Regions from separate parts of the Homo sapiens genome. Here all the other regions are linked to region 1. Evidence: promoter capture Hi-C in 16 types of primary human blood cells and fetal thymus (Javierre and others, 2016). All regions are on one chromosome and are shown on one strand. The core of a region is centred on a gene start or on the middle of the fragment in contact, and the rest is flanking DNA. Distances in the headings are between cores, read along the strand shown.

Region 1 (3,550 bases), core at 541-3,040:
CGGTGGCTCACGCCTGTAATCCCAGCACTTTGGGAGGCCAAGGCGGGCAGATCACGAGGTCAGGAGATCGAGATCATCCTGGCTAACACGGTGAAACCCCGTCTCTACTAAAAATACAAAAAAATTAGCCGGGCGTGGTGGTGGGCGCCTGTAGTCCCAGCTACTCGGGAGGCTGAAGCAGGAGAATGGCGTGAACCCAGGAGGCGGAGCTTGCAGTGAGCCAAGACCATACCACTGCACTCCAGCCTGGGCAACAGAGCAAGACTCCGTCTCAAAAAAAAAAAAAAAAAAATGGACCACAGGCCAGGCACAGTGGGTCACACCTGTAATGCTAACATTTTGGGAAGCCGAGGCAGGAGGATCCCTTGAGCCCATGAGTTTGAGTAGTAACACAGCAAGTCTCTGTTACTACAAAAAAAAAAAAAGAAAAGAAAAGAAAAGAAAAAAGAAAAAAAAAAAGACAAGAAAAAGAGGGTGGAGAGTGGAACCAACATAGTGCAGTAACTATGTTTTAAAAACAGGCAGAACTAGGATGGAATCCCAGCTCTGACCCTGAAAAACAACCTCAAGACTGTGGAGCATGTATTTAACATTTTTAACCCCCAGATTTCTCATCTGTAAAATAGGGATAATGCCTATCTCCCCAAACTGTTAAAGCATGTTAGCGCAATCCCTGGCACTAAAAAAAGGATCAGTAAGTGGTAGGTGTTACGTTATCATCAGGAGGAAACCAGGACAGGAAACATGGAGGAGACTGGAACCCTGCGTGGTAAGAACTTTGGTCGAATCATCTCTTAGGAGAGGATACTTTCCCCTAAACTTGTTATAAGGTTCAGCGAAAGAACAAGAAGCAAAGCAAGAAAGACAGTTTTCTCTCTCCTCCCTGCAGCTGATACAAGATACAAACAGATACTGGAATGGCAGAGTAGACAGTGTGCCGCCAAGGGGCTGCTGGGAACCAAACCCACCACCAACCACCATTCACCTGAGTATTTGACTTCCTTCGCTTCTTTTCTGGACTCTTCATTTGCAGACCTGGAAGAGCGGCAAAAGGAAGACGCAGACAAGTTTCCCTGAGGTTTCCCCAACCTCTTTTCTCTCAGCCATGCTCTGAGGAACTCCTTTAACGTCAATACATACTTGCTTATTTATTCAACAAATGCTAACAAGGGGTGCAATATGAAAAATAGATTGTGAAGATGATCATACTCTCAGCTACGTCTTCCTTTAAATGAAAGATATCCCATCTTTCGATATCCTCAAGCTCCAAGTGAGTACTGAATTCCATGTGGCTCCAAACCCTAGAGTCCTCAATGTGTGACACCTGCCCCCAACCCCTGGAGGATTACACCCACCCATCCTTTTCACCTGAGCCTCCCTTCAAGCCTTCAGACTGTGAAACACCCCCCGCCCACCATCCCTCCCCTCTGAGGTTCCCAAGTCCTGGGCCTCTTCAGCCCCCGCCCCTCGCAGCGCGCTCACCGGCCTTGCCCTGCTTCCTCCCGGTGCTGGGCGGCGCAGGGGGCGGTGCGGGGCCGCCACCTCCCTCCAGCTTGTCCGGTGGGGGCGGCGCCGAGGCGGCCATGGAGTGGGGGACCCGGGTTAGCGGCAGCGGCGGGGGATGGAGGCGCCCTTGGGCTGCACCATCGCCCAGAAGGGGTGTCAGGGGCAGCCCAGGCCCCCGAGCTGCAGCAACCACAAAGTGCGACGACAGGGAAGCGCCGAGCCGCCGCGCAAACTGCGCGCTCTCTCCAGACTCGCCGCCCGCCAGCGGCGGCAGCAACCGGAACCGGAACTCGTCGCGGCCACCACCACTGAGCGCTGCGGGGAGGGGGAGCAAGGACCGGACGAGACGCTACGCCTGAAAACAGGCGGCGGGCGAGGGACGAGGCTTACCACGGCACCACGCGAGTGGAAAGGGTCGTCTCCGCTAGCGGCGGCCCACACCAGCTCACCGAGGGGCGGCAGCGCGCGGCCCGGCTGCCGGACCGTACCATCCCGGGCGGTGGAGCCGCCGCGGAGGGGCGCGCGCGAGCCGAAGGCGCACCCGGGAGGCCCAGGTAGCCCGGGGGCCGGTGCTGGGGCGCCGGGCAGGCCCGGCTCCCGCCTCGACCCACCCGGAGCCAGCCCCCTCTGCGGACACGACATCCCCATGGGGACGGTGGCGCGAAACGCCCCACTCTGCCGCACCCAAACTCTGCAGACCCCCAGCTTCCCTGGGCGGCCGCGACCTCCCGCCTCCCCGTCTGCCGCTGAGGGCCCGCGGCGTACACAATAGGCTTCCCAGAAGGGTTAAGAGGCAGAGGTAGAAGAAATACGGACTTTAATGAAGAGTTTTCCCTTTGGTATAAGTGAGACCCGTGGAAACATCCAAACAGCAAAAGGAGGCCAGGATGAAAACGGTCAACTCTCCCTTATCCACAAGGCCAAAAGAGGGGGGGCCGGCTTGCTGTGGTGTGGCCACCCCGGGCCTAGGCTGGGCCGGGCCTGTAGAAGGTACTCAGGAACTGCAGGTTTTGCGTTTCCCCTCCATGAAACTGACAGGCATTCGGGCTGACTTCTGCCTCTCAGTCTCGCGGTAAGAGACCCAAGTTTTTCTAGTCCTAGATGGAAATAAATTTCATCTGCCTCAGGTCTCTGGTATAAAAGGTGCGATCCCAGTTACCTCACAGGCCTAGGCGAGGAAAATGCCAAGAGCTGTAAAAGGGCTTGGAAAAGTCAAAAAGGTGATGTATAAATGTAATAATTGATTATCATTTTGTGCTCAAGAATAAGCAATGGAAAAGAAAATAGGAAAGTAAGTCTACAGCCCTAAAATATATGCATATAAAACTTTAAAAGAATGCAGTTCCAACTCTACAGATGGTATGTGGGGATTGTCTACTGCTTTATAGTCTCAATGCCCCTTTTCTCACCTCCACAAAATCCACCTGGGAGAGTTAACTGTACAAGAGGCCCAAATTCAGTCACCCCCACCCCGCCCTCCCAGAAAGGGAGGCAGGGCAGAGGCTTCAGGAGGAAGGGCTGCACTTTGGCGTAGAGTACATAGGCATGCAACATGGGAGGGCAGGCCTTATGAAATGTATATACAGACCCCTTGGGGTGAGGGGCCCCGGCCAGGAGGCACTGAGCAAGGGAGGGGTCCATCTCCCGCCTGGCCGGGAGTGGGGCTCTGGGGCAATCTCTAAGGGTTGCATATCCCCAGGGAGAGGGGACAGCTGCCACTCCTGCCTCTGTTATCCCAACCCAAACCGGAGAGGGTGCTCAGCAAGAACACAGGTCCCAGAAGCCAAGAAGGTGTTGGCATCCCTGTCATTGAATTCAGGGGTCCAAGAACTGTTTGCATAAAATATCATTAGACCTAAGAGATGGTCAAAGGCACAAAGTTTAAACATGGGGGGGGCGGGTGTTGAGAGGGGTCTGGGATACCCTGAAGCCCAGAGGTGTGATTTGTTCCCCCTTGCCCAGAAGGGTGACTGTTCCACTGGGCCTGTCACCACAGGACATTTTCCATGACAAGCACTCACCTTCTTGGGGAAGGGGCATCAGG
Region 2 (3,550 bases), core at 340-2,839, 390 kb before region 1:
CCCACAGGCTTAGGGGCCTTCTCGGCAGCCTCTCTTCCTCCCTGCAGCATGAGCGGGAGCAGATCATGACCACCAATGTCTGGCTGACCCAGGTAAGCGTAAGTGCTCTCTTCCACCCACACCCCTGGCCTTCTCTCTCCTCCTTTTTCCCCATGTGCTTTTTTCTTTCTTAATCTCTCAAAACAGGCAGAAAGGTATAGAGTTTGGAGTCCTAAACAATTGGATTTGAATCTTGGCACTCACCAGCCTTGTGACTTTAAACATATTAAACTCTCCAAGATTCATTTTCTCATTTGTAAATGTAGATTCTAATACTGTACCTTGGCCTAGCTGTGCAAATTAAATGAGAAAGTACCACATGAGCCATACCTGATGGGCAGAGAAGTCACTGTGGGGAAGAGGCTGGCTTTTAAAAGGTCCCTCAAGCCATATGGGCCCCCTCTAGTTCGTTTCCTTAACCTTGAGCCCCACCCAGGGCACAAGTTGGTACTGCCTCCCTCTCTCATTTCCCAGGAGTGGGAAGATTATCGCCTCACCTGGAAGCCTGAAGAGTTTGACAACATGAAGAAAGTTCGGCTCCCTTCCAAACACATCTGGCTCCCAGATGTGGTCCTGTACAACAAGTAGGTGCAATGGGAAGGTTGGGGGAGACCATTGGAGGGCTCAGGGAGGGAAGGGGTTCTGGGGAAAATAAGAGAAATTACTTATGCTGTGGGAGGGGAGGGACTTATAATAGATATGTAGTCACTACCTAGACAGACAGACCCAGACCAGTGAGGTACAGCGTGGACAGCCAAGGTGACCTGGGCAATGACCAGCCCACTCCCAGCCGGTTAGGACTCCCAGTATGTATTTGATGATGTGGTGGGGATACAAACAAGTATTGACAGCCCCCAGCGCCTCAACTGATTCAGGAACAGGCTTTCCTGGAAGCCTGGGAAGGATCAAAGAACTTTAAGGTCCCAGTTTCTCCTCCAGGTTCTATCCTGTCTCCTGCAATAATCCATCTTATCTCTAGGGTACAAAGCCACCTTCCTCAACTGATGGGACCATGCCCTGTCCCCTTCCATTGCTTGGGGCTCCTCACTCTGGCCTCCTGGCTCCCCTGACTTCTCCACCCTCATGAGGATCAACCAGCTTATACAATGTGTGACAAGTAGCAGATGTGTCCCCTTCCTCCACCCACCACCCCCTTCTACCTGCAAGGTGTCACACAGGCCTTCTGACCAGGACACTTCTTCTGGTCACTAACCTTCCCCCCCCTCCCCATATCCCCTTCTTGCTCAATTCCACCTCTCTATACTCCTGGATGGTTACTCTCAGATCTGGGTGTCCCCTCCCCATGTCTCCCTCTGGTTTTGCTCTCCTCCCATTAGGGGCTGGGTTGATGGGTAAGGAGGAAGGAACGCTTAGGCCAGGGCTGACTGTGCCCATCCTTTGGCAGTGCTGACGGCATGTACGAGGTGTCCTTCTATTCCAATGCCGTGGTCTCCTATGATGGCAGCATCTTCTGGCTGCCGCCTGCCATCTACAAGAGCGCATGCAAGATTGAAGTAAAGCACTTCCCATTTGACCAGCAGAACTGCACCATGAAGTTCCGTTCGTGGACCTACGACCGCACAGAGATCGACTTGGTGCTGAAGAGTGAGGTGGCCAGCCTGGACGACTTCACACCTAGTGGTGAGTGGGACATCGTGGCGCTGCCGGGCCGGCGCAACGAGAACCCCGACGACTCTACGTACGTGGACATCACGTATGACTTCATCATTCGCCGCAAGCCGCTCTTCTACACCATCAACCTCATCATCCCCTGTGTGCTCATCACCTCGCTAGCCATCCTTGTCTTCTACCTGCCATCCGACTGTGGCGAGAAGATGACGTTGTGCATCTCAGTGCTGCTGGCGCTCACGGTCTTCCTGCTGCTCATCTCCAAGATCGTGCCTCCCACCTCCCTCGACGTGCCGCTCGTCGGCAAGTACCTCATGTTCACCATGGTGCTTGTCACCTTCTCCATCGTCACCAGCGTGTGCGTGCTCAACGTGCACCACCGCTCGCCCACCACGCACACCATGGCGCCCTGGGTGAAGGTCGTCTTCCTGGAGAAGCTGCCCGCGCTGCTCTTCATGCAGCAGCCACGCCATCATTGCGCCCGTCAGCGCCTGCGCCTGCGGCGACGCCAGCGTGAGCGCGAGGGCGCTGGAGCCCTCTTCTTCCGCGAAGCCCCAGGGGCCGACTCCTGCACGTGCTTCGTCAACCGCGCGTCGGTGCAGGGGTTGGCCGGGGCCTTCGGGGCTGAGCCTGCACCAGTGGCGGGCCCCGGGCGCTCAGGGGAGCCGTGTGGCTGTGGCCTCCGGGAGGCGGTGGACGGCGTGCGCTTCATCGCAGACCACATGCGGAGCGAGGACGATGACCAGAGCGTGAGTGCCGCAGGCTGGGACCCCGGGCGTGAGATATGGGGTCTGCCAGGGCCCGGGTATCTGGAAAGCAGCGGCGTTCTATAGACATGCAGAGGTAGTAGGAGTGTAGGGGAGGAAAATGTGAGTCAGGCCTGTGTTGCGGGCCTGGGTGCTGGCTAGGGCCCTTCTGGGTTGGCTTCCGGGAGATTGTGCGGCCTAAATTGGAGTCGGTGGAAGATGACCTTGCTGCTTCCTGAGGGCTAGCACCCAGGGCAAAATGCCTGAGCTGGGGCATCGTTATATGGGCAGGGAGGCCTGAAACACGAGGAGGCCCTTTAGGGTTGGCAGCCAGCCTGTGGCCGTGACCCCGAGAGTCCCTCCCCACCCCCCGCTGCTTGCATGCCCACATCCAAGTTGTTAACCTGCAGCTCTTAGCACAAGTGATGAGTCTTTTGTGCACCACACAGGCAGGAGGGGGCAACATTGAGGACAGTAGGAGTGGTGTGTATTGGGGGAGGGGTGGCGTTGGTGGCGGGGTTAGAGATTCCAGGAGCCTGCTTGTGGTGGAGAGCATGGAGTCCTAAATCAATATCCCTGCTCTTCTGAGTCCCAGGGGATGGCCTCCTGAAATATTTATGGAGATGGGGGTGGGTGAAGGGGAAGGCTCCTTGGCCCCTTCCTCAGGCTTTCTGCATACCCGGCTTTTGGCTTCTTCTACAGGGTTCCCTGAGAGCTTCTTTGAGACTGAGCCAAGAGTTGGGGGGAGATATGATAGGCTGACATCCCCCCGACCCCGCACTTTGGGTAGGGGCCGGCCCCACCCTGTGGTCAGTCTCTGGCTACCTGGCTGGTTCCAGGCTGAGGCTCAGCTGTTGCCATGGTGACTGGCCAGGTTTCCTCTAGGACAGCTGCCATTCTGGCTGGGGGATGAAGAAGGGCACTGCGGTGTGGGCCTCAGAGATCTGTTTCCCTGGACAGCAGGAGATGGGTTGGAGCTGAAGCTTGGACCAGGGAGCATACACTAGAGGAGATGGGGTGGGAACCTTAGAGCCAGCTGAGGCCAAGTGGGAGATGCTGGGATTCAGGGACTCAGCAGGCTGTGGTTACCGCCTCCACCTCTCCTGCTGCAGTCATGCATGTATTGTGCATTTACC
Region 3 (2,980 bases), core at 173-2,672, 370 kb before region 1:
ACATCTATGGTGGTGAGGAGATTGAAAGGGAAGAGAATAGACACTAAACCAGTAGCCAGTACATACGGAAGAATTCCAGATGCTGACAGTGCTCTGAAGGCTCTGAGGCAGCTATGACGGAGGACCACAGGGGACACCTCCTGGGACAGCAGCAGCAGGGGAGCCCAGACATGGAGGAGGACAGCTGGAGTAAGTGTTTCAGGCACACAGGACAAAAGCAAAGGCCCCAAGGCAGCCAGCGGATTGGCTGTTCAGGCGCCTGACAGAGAGCCAGTGTGGACAGAGCATATGCGAGGGATGGGGAAAGTGGCATGAGAGGAGGCCGGGTGATCACAGCAGGTTTTGCTTGTATATGCAGTGCAGTGGGAAACCACTATCGGGTTTAAAAAAAAACAAAAAAAAATGCTTTACTGAGATATAGTTCATATGCCATACAGTTCACCCATTTAAAGCATACAATTCAGTCATTTTTAGTATATTCACAGAGTTCTGCAACTGTCACCACAGTCAATTTTAGAACATTTCATCGCTCCAAAAAGAAACCTTCTACCCATTGGCGCAGTCACTCCTCATCTCTCCAACTCTCCCACTCCTGGCCCTGGCAACCACTCATCTACTTTCTGTCTCTATGGATTTGTCTATTCTGGACATTTCATATAAATGGAATCATACAATATGTGATCTTTTGTGACTGGCTTTTTTCATTTGGCATCAAGTTTTCAAGTGCATCCATATTGTAAGCATGTATCAGCACTTCACTTCTTTTTATGGCCAAAATAATATTCAATTTATGGATATATTTGATGTTTTATTTATGAATCCATCAGCTGATGGACGTCTGGGTTGTTTCCACTTTTTTGGCTCTTGTGAGTAATGCTGCCATGAACATTCACATATTAGTTTCCGTGTGGACACAGATCTCCATCTCTCTGCAGCATATACCTAGGAGTGGAGCACCGGCTCCATGGTAACTGTGTCTATACTTTAGGGTATTTAGCAAGGTTTCAGGACCACCATGATGACTGCTGACGTGGCCTGAACGCAATGGAGTGGATGCGAAGAGACAGTAAGGAGACAGGAGAGGATAGGAGAGAAGGAGCCAGTGGACAAGGCAGAGTCAACTGCCAGCTAGACAGGAGGGGACCCCAGCATTTGGCATCCTCATCTGTCAACTCCTCAGGGCTTGGTTGTGCCGCACTCTTCATTTCCTCCCCGCTTTCTTGAGGTAATCCTATGCATTCTCATGGCCATGAAGACCCTATAGGGGGATGACTCCCATATTTCTATTTCCAGCCAAGCTCCCTCCTCTGAGCTCCACATGGGAACCCCCACCTCCTATTTGACTTGGGGATCTCCCAGATCTCCCAAACTAACACATTCAAAATAGAACCCTGATCTTACCACACAGCTCCCTGACCCAGGTCTTCCCTTTCCTGTAAACAGCACCTCTGTGCCCAGTGACTAATGGTAAAATCCTAGCAGCCTTGTAGAGACTTGGGGTCCCTGGACCTTGCAGAGCCTTTTGAGGAAAGGAGGCGGGGGCATGTATCACTCACCGTTCTCCACCTTGGTGCGGAGCTTTCCTTGTTTGGGATTCTCGAAGACAGGGTAGTGGCGGGATTCTGTGCTTTCCATAGCACGGTCGCTGCAGGACTTGTCAAAGAGGGCGCCATCTCCACACGGAGCAGTGCTGAAAAACAGGGGTGGCTGTTAAAACTCACCTGTGGGAAATCTGCAATTTCGTGGGGCTCCAAAACAGTCAGATGTGACAGAAGCAAGGGATGTTTTCTAAGGCCTACCATGGGAGACTGGAGGTGGACAGCAGTACATGTGAGTCATCTACACCTGAATATGGACCTCAAACCCACAGTGGAGTGTGGCTTATTGTATCAGGTTCGATTTACAGGCCAGGAGAGCATTTGGATACCCAATTCTAACAGCCTGGCAGGGCCCACCCTGGCAGCAACAGGAACTGTACAGACCTGATATACAGATGGAATGACACAGTCTTTTTTATTTGGAGCTTTTCTCCTCCCTTAGCAGGTTCAAATATACTATCCTTCGCAGTCTGGGAGTTGTATTTCATTAACTCACTGTAGAGAAACCTACAAAAAGAAAGTCTGGTTAGGAAGGCAGGTTCAATTCTGGGAAAAGCAGTTGTTTCTATAATCTGACCTCCAAATGAGAAAGTAAGGAAAAGTCTCAATGTTGCAGACGTTTCACAGTTTATCAGGTGGAAATTCTCCAGGGGAGACCTCAGCATTTCATAAAGCATAGTTAGCCTTTTGGGTCTCCTTCATTTCTGCTGAGGGCTCCTCGCTATGGCGGCTACAGGGATTCTAGAGCAGAGCAAACTGATTCAAGGACTACAGGAAGCTGTTGCTCCTTTCTAAGTCTCTCCCTTCATAAATTAAAGAAAAGGTGAGCTAGAGGAGAAAGCTGGCAGGGGCATCAAGGTTGTGTAGGTCCTCAAACGGAAATGGAAAGCTGCCTCATCCTCAAGGCCCTGAGGACTAAAAGGTCATTTTGTGTTTTTAGAAAAGAACATGAAGCAGCAGAGTTAGCAGAAAAAAGGACAGCATTTAAAAACAGGCCGAGCAGTGGGAGGCAGCTCAGCTCACAGAGGGGATGGATTCCATCAGACAGGTTCAAATGGACGGGTGAAAAGCAAAGGCTGCCACTGCCACATCATGACCCGTCTGTCTGAGGGGGATTCAGAGGCCGTGTCAGAGCCATGTGGGGCAGGGAACTGGAGCTCTCCACAGCCGGGCAGCCGGGCCACAGCTCTGACCTCGCTCACCTGATGAAGCCTCTCCGGGAGATTATTTCTGCATGGCAGTCATTGACAGTTTCTCCTTTTAGGCTGAGAGAATCTCCTTTCACACAGCGATTCCCTAGGAAGGTGTTTAAAACAGAAATAGAATAATGGAAGGAAACCGATGGAAAACAGGATGAAGGCTATTTGTTCTGAAAGCTTCAA
Region 4 (3,550 bases), core at 346-2,845, 360 kb before region 1:
TGAGAAGGCAATTGAGCCATGGGCTTATGACTTGGCTAGGGTGACTTGCCTACCTCCTAAATCCTGCCTAGGGGCCTGCCAACAGGAACACAGAGAGGGGAGCAGGAGGCAAAGCACGCAGAACTTCCAGGAATACAGAGGTTCTGAGGCCTCAGCATAGCCTCTCCAGCAACCTAACTTACTTTTCCCTTTGACAGAATTTAAGGGAGTTGAGAAGGTAATTTTCTAGTTACCAAAACAATTACCCCTTTAAAATCAGAACAACAAATATATGTTATTGTTTTGAAAACAAAAACAGAATAACCTGAAATAACCAGAACAATCACATGAAATAACAATAACCAAGGGAGATGGGACTAGGGAAGGGACGAGATGACCTCTCCTTAAGTCAGGCTCACCAGTGCACCCCTTGCCCACCTGTCTCTAAGATCTATCGTTTAGATGACTATGACAAAAGAAGAAATGTGATTGGATGAAACTGAACCCCAGTCCTCCAAGGCTGTAACAGCGCAGTAACGAAAACAATCTCCAGGTGGGAAAAGGCCACGGGACCTCAGAGTCATCTCTGTGGCTCTTCACTGCCATCCCAGGAGGATCAGAATTTGGTCTTCAGGGAGCTGGAGGGTTTCCTGATAAAAATGGCACACTGTCCTCACTCTTCAGTGTGGTACCCAGGCTCAGAAGGGATGCCAGAGACTTTTGCCCAAACCACCCAGGCTCTCCTGGATGTGTGGAGCTGGCAGCATCTGCTCCTCACCACCTCAGACCAGTCCTACCTTCCCTAGCTACTTCCCCATAGCTGCTTCCACTGCACGTTCTTCTGAACCCTGACGGACAGGGCACAAGCAACCCCATGTTCTCATATGCACATTTACCAGAACACCAAGCACCTGTGACCCCTTTCCCCACCCACCCACCTGCAAACCAGTACTGTCTTCTCCCCAGGGCTGTTCACTGGAGGGTGATGGAGCCAGGAAGTACTTATAAGCCTGGGGGTGTCAGTAAACACCTTGCTTCCTTTCCCTGGGGCTTGTAGACTGGGAGGAGGGATTCTGACAACATTTACTCACACTCACCGCCCCCTCCTCAGACTCTCCTGGAGGCTGCACAGGTAGAGGTGGGACCCTTTCTTCCATAACTCTAGCCTTCTACTCTTCCACATCCTGACACACTTAGGGGATTTCAGCATTCTTGTCAATCACTCTCATGGTGTCCTGGCTACAAGGATCCTTAACCCAGTGATCTCCATCCCTACCTTTCTGCCACACAATTGGCTTGTCTAGCTACTCCTTCAATCTCACTATGACTCTAACCTAGGCCATCACACCAAGACCTCAAATCCTGCAACTCTTTTCCAGTGGCTGATAAACTTTTTCTATAAAGGGCCAGACAGCTCTGCCACTGTAGCACAAAAACAGCCTCACACAATATGCAAAACTTTATTTACAATTCATTTACCATGAAGCTTTATTTATAAAAACAGGTAGTTTGTACCTGTGGGCCATAGTTTCTTGACTCCTGCTCTTTTCTGATGGTGACTTCCCTGTGTTTCTACAACTTCACTCCTTACTCTGGTGGAACCTGCTCCTCGCATGACCCCGGTGAAGCTGCCAGTAAGCCACCCTGATTCTTCCCCACTCTGACTTCACACACCTCCTCACCCCACCTGGATCTCATGGTCAGTTCCCTTCTCCACCCAAGGCCCACTGTCCCCCTTTTCTTCTCCAAAGCTTCCCAGTGGTACTGGAGAAGGACCTTGACTTGTGCTAACAGGGTCCATAAAAATTCCTTCTCTTGAACCTCATTTGGGTCTTCGCTGTGTGGTGGTCAATTGTGTTTAACAAACATGCCTTAGTTCACTGTGGATTGAGTACTCTTCTTTTAAAAAATTCTCCTCCCAGGGTTTGGTGACACAGCAAAGGTCTTTCACCTCTTTTTTCTTCTTTGTCCCTTTTTCCCACCCCTTATAATTTTTTAATAGCTACTGTATTAACGGATCCACCCTTTATATAATCAGTCTCCAAGGTTTTAAGGACCTCTTCTTCCTTTATAATTTATTTCCTAGGTTGCTTTAATCACTGCCCCAACCTAAACTAGCCCTCTGAAGCAAGAGCACTCAAATCTACTATGTCCAGCCACTACCTTGTGTGGGAGCTTAAGATCTGAATTTCCAACTATGTCGACAGTCTGTCCACTTAAATATCCTGCCATAACTCAAACAGCACATATTCTGAACCAAATTAATAGTTCCCTCAAACTCAGCTCCTTCTCCTGTAGTTCTTATTGCTAATGGCATCACTCTCCTCCTAGCCTATTAAGGCTAGAAACCTGCGTCATCTTTGCTGCCCGCCTCCTGGCCTCATCTCCTGGATCTCATCAGGTAGTTGCCAAGTCCCACCTTGTCTGCCACCTCTGTACTGTGTCTTAAATGTGTTTTCTTCCAGTTCCAGCCCCTCATTACCTCTTACTGGGCCATTGCAAAGGCCTATAATCTTTCTATCCCTCTACATGCCAATCCAGGTGGCACATCTCCCTCCACAGCCACCTATCACAACTCTGACCCTTTCCTTATAGAGCTCCTTAAATGCCACTTGCTTCAGGAGACTCCTGACTCCCACCTTCTTCAGCCCTTGGGGTTTCCTCTCCTTGAGCTTCTCCTACTCAGCACCTGTTAAACCATTTACTTTCCCTCGTATCAGAGCTACTGGATTTTTTTTTTTTTTATGGCACACACACATTGCAGTGTCTGAAAGGTAATTAACATTAGGTGTCCTATAAGTTATACTCAACTCTCCACTCTCAATATTCCCAACACAGTACTGATGAGGGGCTTCAGTTGATTCCATGGTGAGCTCTTGGGGGTCAAGGACTATGCTTCAATCATCTCAACCTCTCTAGCACTTGGCACAAAGCTGATTCTCAACAAACATTTGTTGAATTAATGACTGCATGAACAAGACGCCACTATGCAAGCAATCATTTCTTTCTTGTTCCTCTTGCTGCACCCTCACGCCCACCATATTGCTAGGGACAGAGGCAAATGTGTGTACAGAGTGAGTGCTGGCTCCCAGAGCTGAATTATGGGACTTAGGGGTTCTCCTATTAGCTCTTTGAGTGACCTTGGGAAAAAAAAATTGTGTTTCAAAGTGGCTAGAGTCAGTTAAAAGCTAAATGTTTTTTAAACTGCTACTCTTGGCCCAAATCTGGAAAATATTTTAATGTCTGTCTATAGAAGAATTAAATTATGAAACATTCATTCTATGGAATAGTACTCACACGGTTATTTTTTTTCTTGTGAGACGGAGTCTCGCTCTGTTGCCAAGCTGGAGTGCAGTGGCATGATCTCGGCTCACTGCAATCAGGCTGGAGTGCAGTGTGATCTCAGCTCACTGCAATCTCCGCCTCCCGGGTTCAAGTGATTCTCCTGCCTCAGCCTCCGGAGTAGCTGGGATTACAGGCGCACGCCACCACACCCAGCTAATTTTTGTATTTTTAGTAGAGATGGGGTTTCACCATGCTGGCCAGGATGGTGTCGATCTCCTGATCCGCC

Evidence for each region. The method cuts DNA at HindIII sites, captures the fragments that hold promoters and counts their contacts. A CHiCAGO score of 5 or more calls a contact.
Region 2: a contact is called between a fragment that was not itself captured here and the fragment with the promoter of PYGO2 in region 1, in 5 of 17 cell types (fetal thymus, endothelial precursors, naive CD4 T cells and 2 more). The highest score is 7.5, in fetal thymus.
Region 3: a contact is called between a fragment that was not itself captured here and the fragment with the promoter of PYGO2 in region 1, in 1 of 17 cell types (M1 macrophages). The highest score is 5.3, in M1 macrophages.
Region 4: a contact is called between a fragment that was not itself captured here and the fragment with the promoter of PYGO2 in region 1, in 5 of 17 cell types (naive B cells, fetal thymus, activated CD4 T cells and 2 more). The highest score is 7.2, in naive B cells.

Annotation. Positions count from the first base shown.
Region 1 is chr1:154,959,992-154,963,541 of GRCh38, forward strand. It overlaps PYGO2 (pygopus family PHD finger 2), which reads right to left and starts at 1,791. Exons shown (of 3, transcript NM_138300.4): 1 at 1,483-1,791; 2 at 986-1,035. The coding sequence starts at 1,585. It overlaps SHC1 (SHC adaptor protein 1), which reads right to left. Exons shown (of 12, transcript NM_001130040.2): 12 at 2,307-3,550. PYGO2-AS1 (PYGO2 and SHC1 antisense RNA 1) reads left to right here and starts at 1,547. Exons shown (of 1, transcript NR_171036.1): 1 at 1,547-2,632. RefSeq lists silencers at 1,337-1,796, 1,847-2,256 and enhancers at 1,398-2,138, 2,139-2,878. The HindIII fragment of the contact is 6,114 bases long and covers 1-3,550 here.
Region 2 is chr1:154,569,745-154,573,294 of GRCh38, forward strand. CHRNB2 (cholinergic receptor nicotinic beta 2 subunit) reads left to right here. Exons shown (of 6, transcript NM_000748.3): 3 at 48-92; 4 at 514-623; 5 at 1,445-2,417. Among named protein-coding and RNA genes, the nearest start is that of CHRNB2, 3.7 kb to the left of the region's middle. The HindIII fragment of the contact is 3,612 bases long and covers 1-3,395 here.
Region 3 is chr1:154,586,569-154,589,548 of GRCh38, forward strand. ADAR (adenosine deaminase RNA specific) reads right to left here. Exons shown (of 15, transcript NM_001111.5): 9 at 2,801-2,894; 10 at 1,983-2,105; 11 at 1,557-1,690. Among named protein-coding and RNA genes, the nearest start is that of ADAR, 20 kb to the right of the region's middle. RefSeq lists an enhancer at 2,132-2,980. The HindIII fragment of the contact is 3,100 bases long and covers 1-2,972 here.
Region 4 is chr1:154,602,728-154,606,277 of GRCh38, forward strand. All of the region lies in intron 1 of ADAR (adenosine deaminase RNA specific), which reads right to left. Among named protein-coding and RNA genes, the nearest start is that of ADAR, 3.7 kb to the right of the region's middle. The HindIII fragment of the contact is 265 bases long and covers 1,464-1,728 here.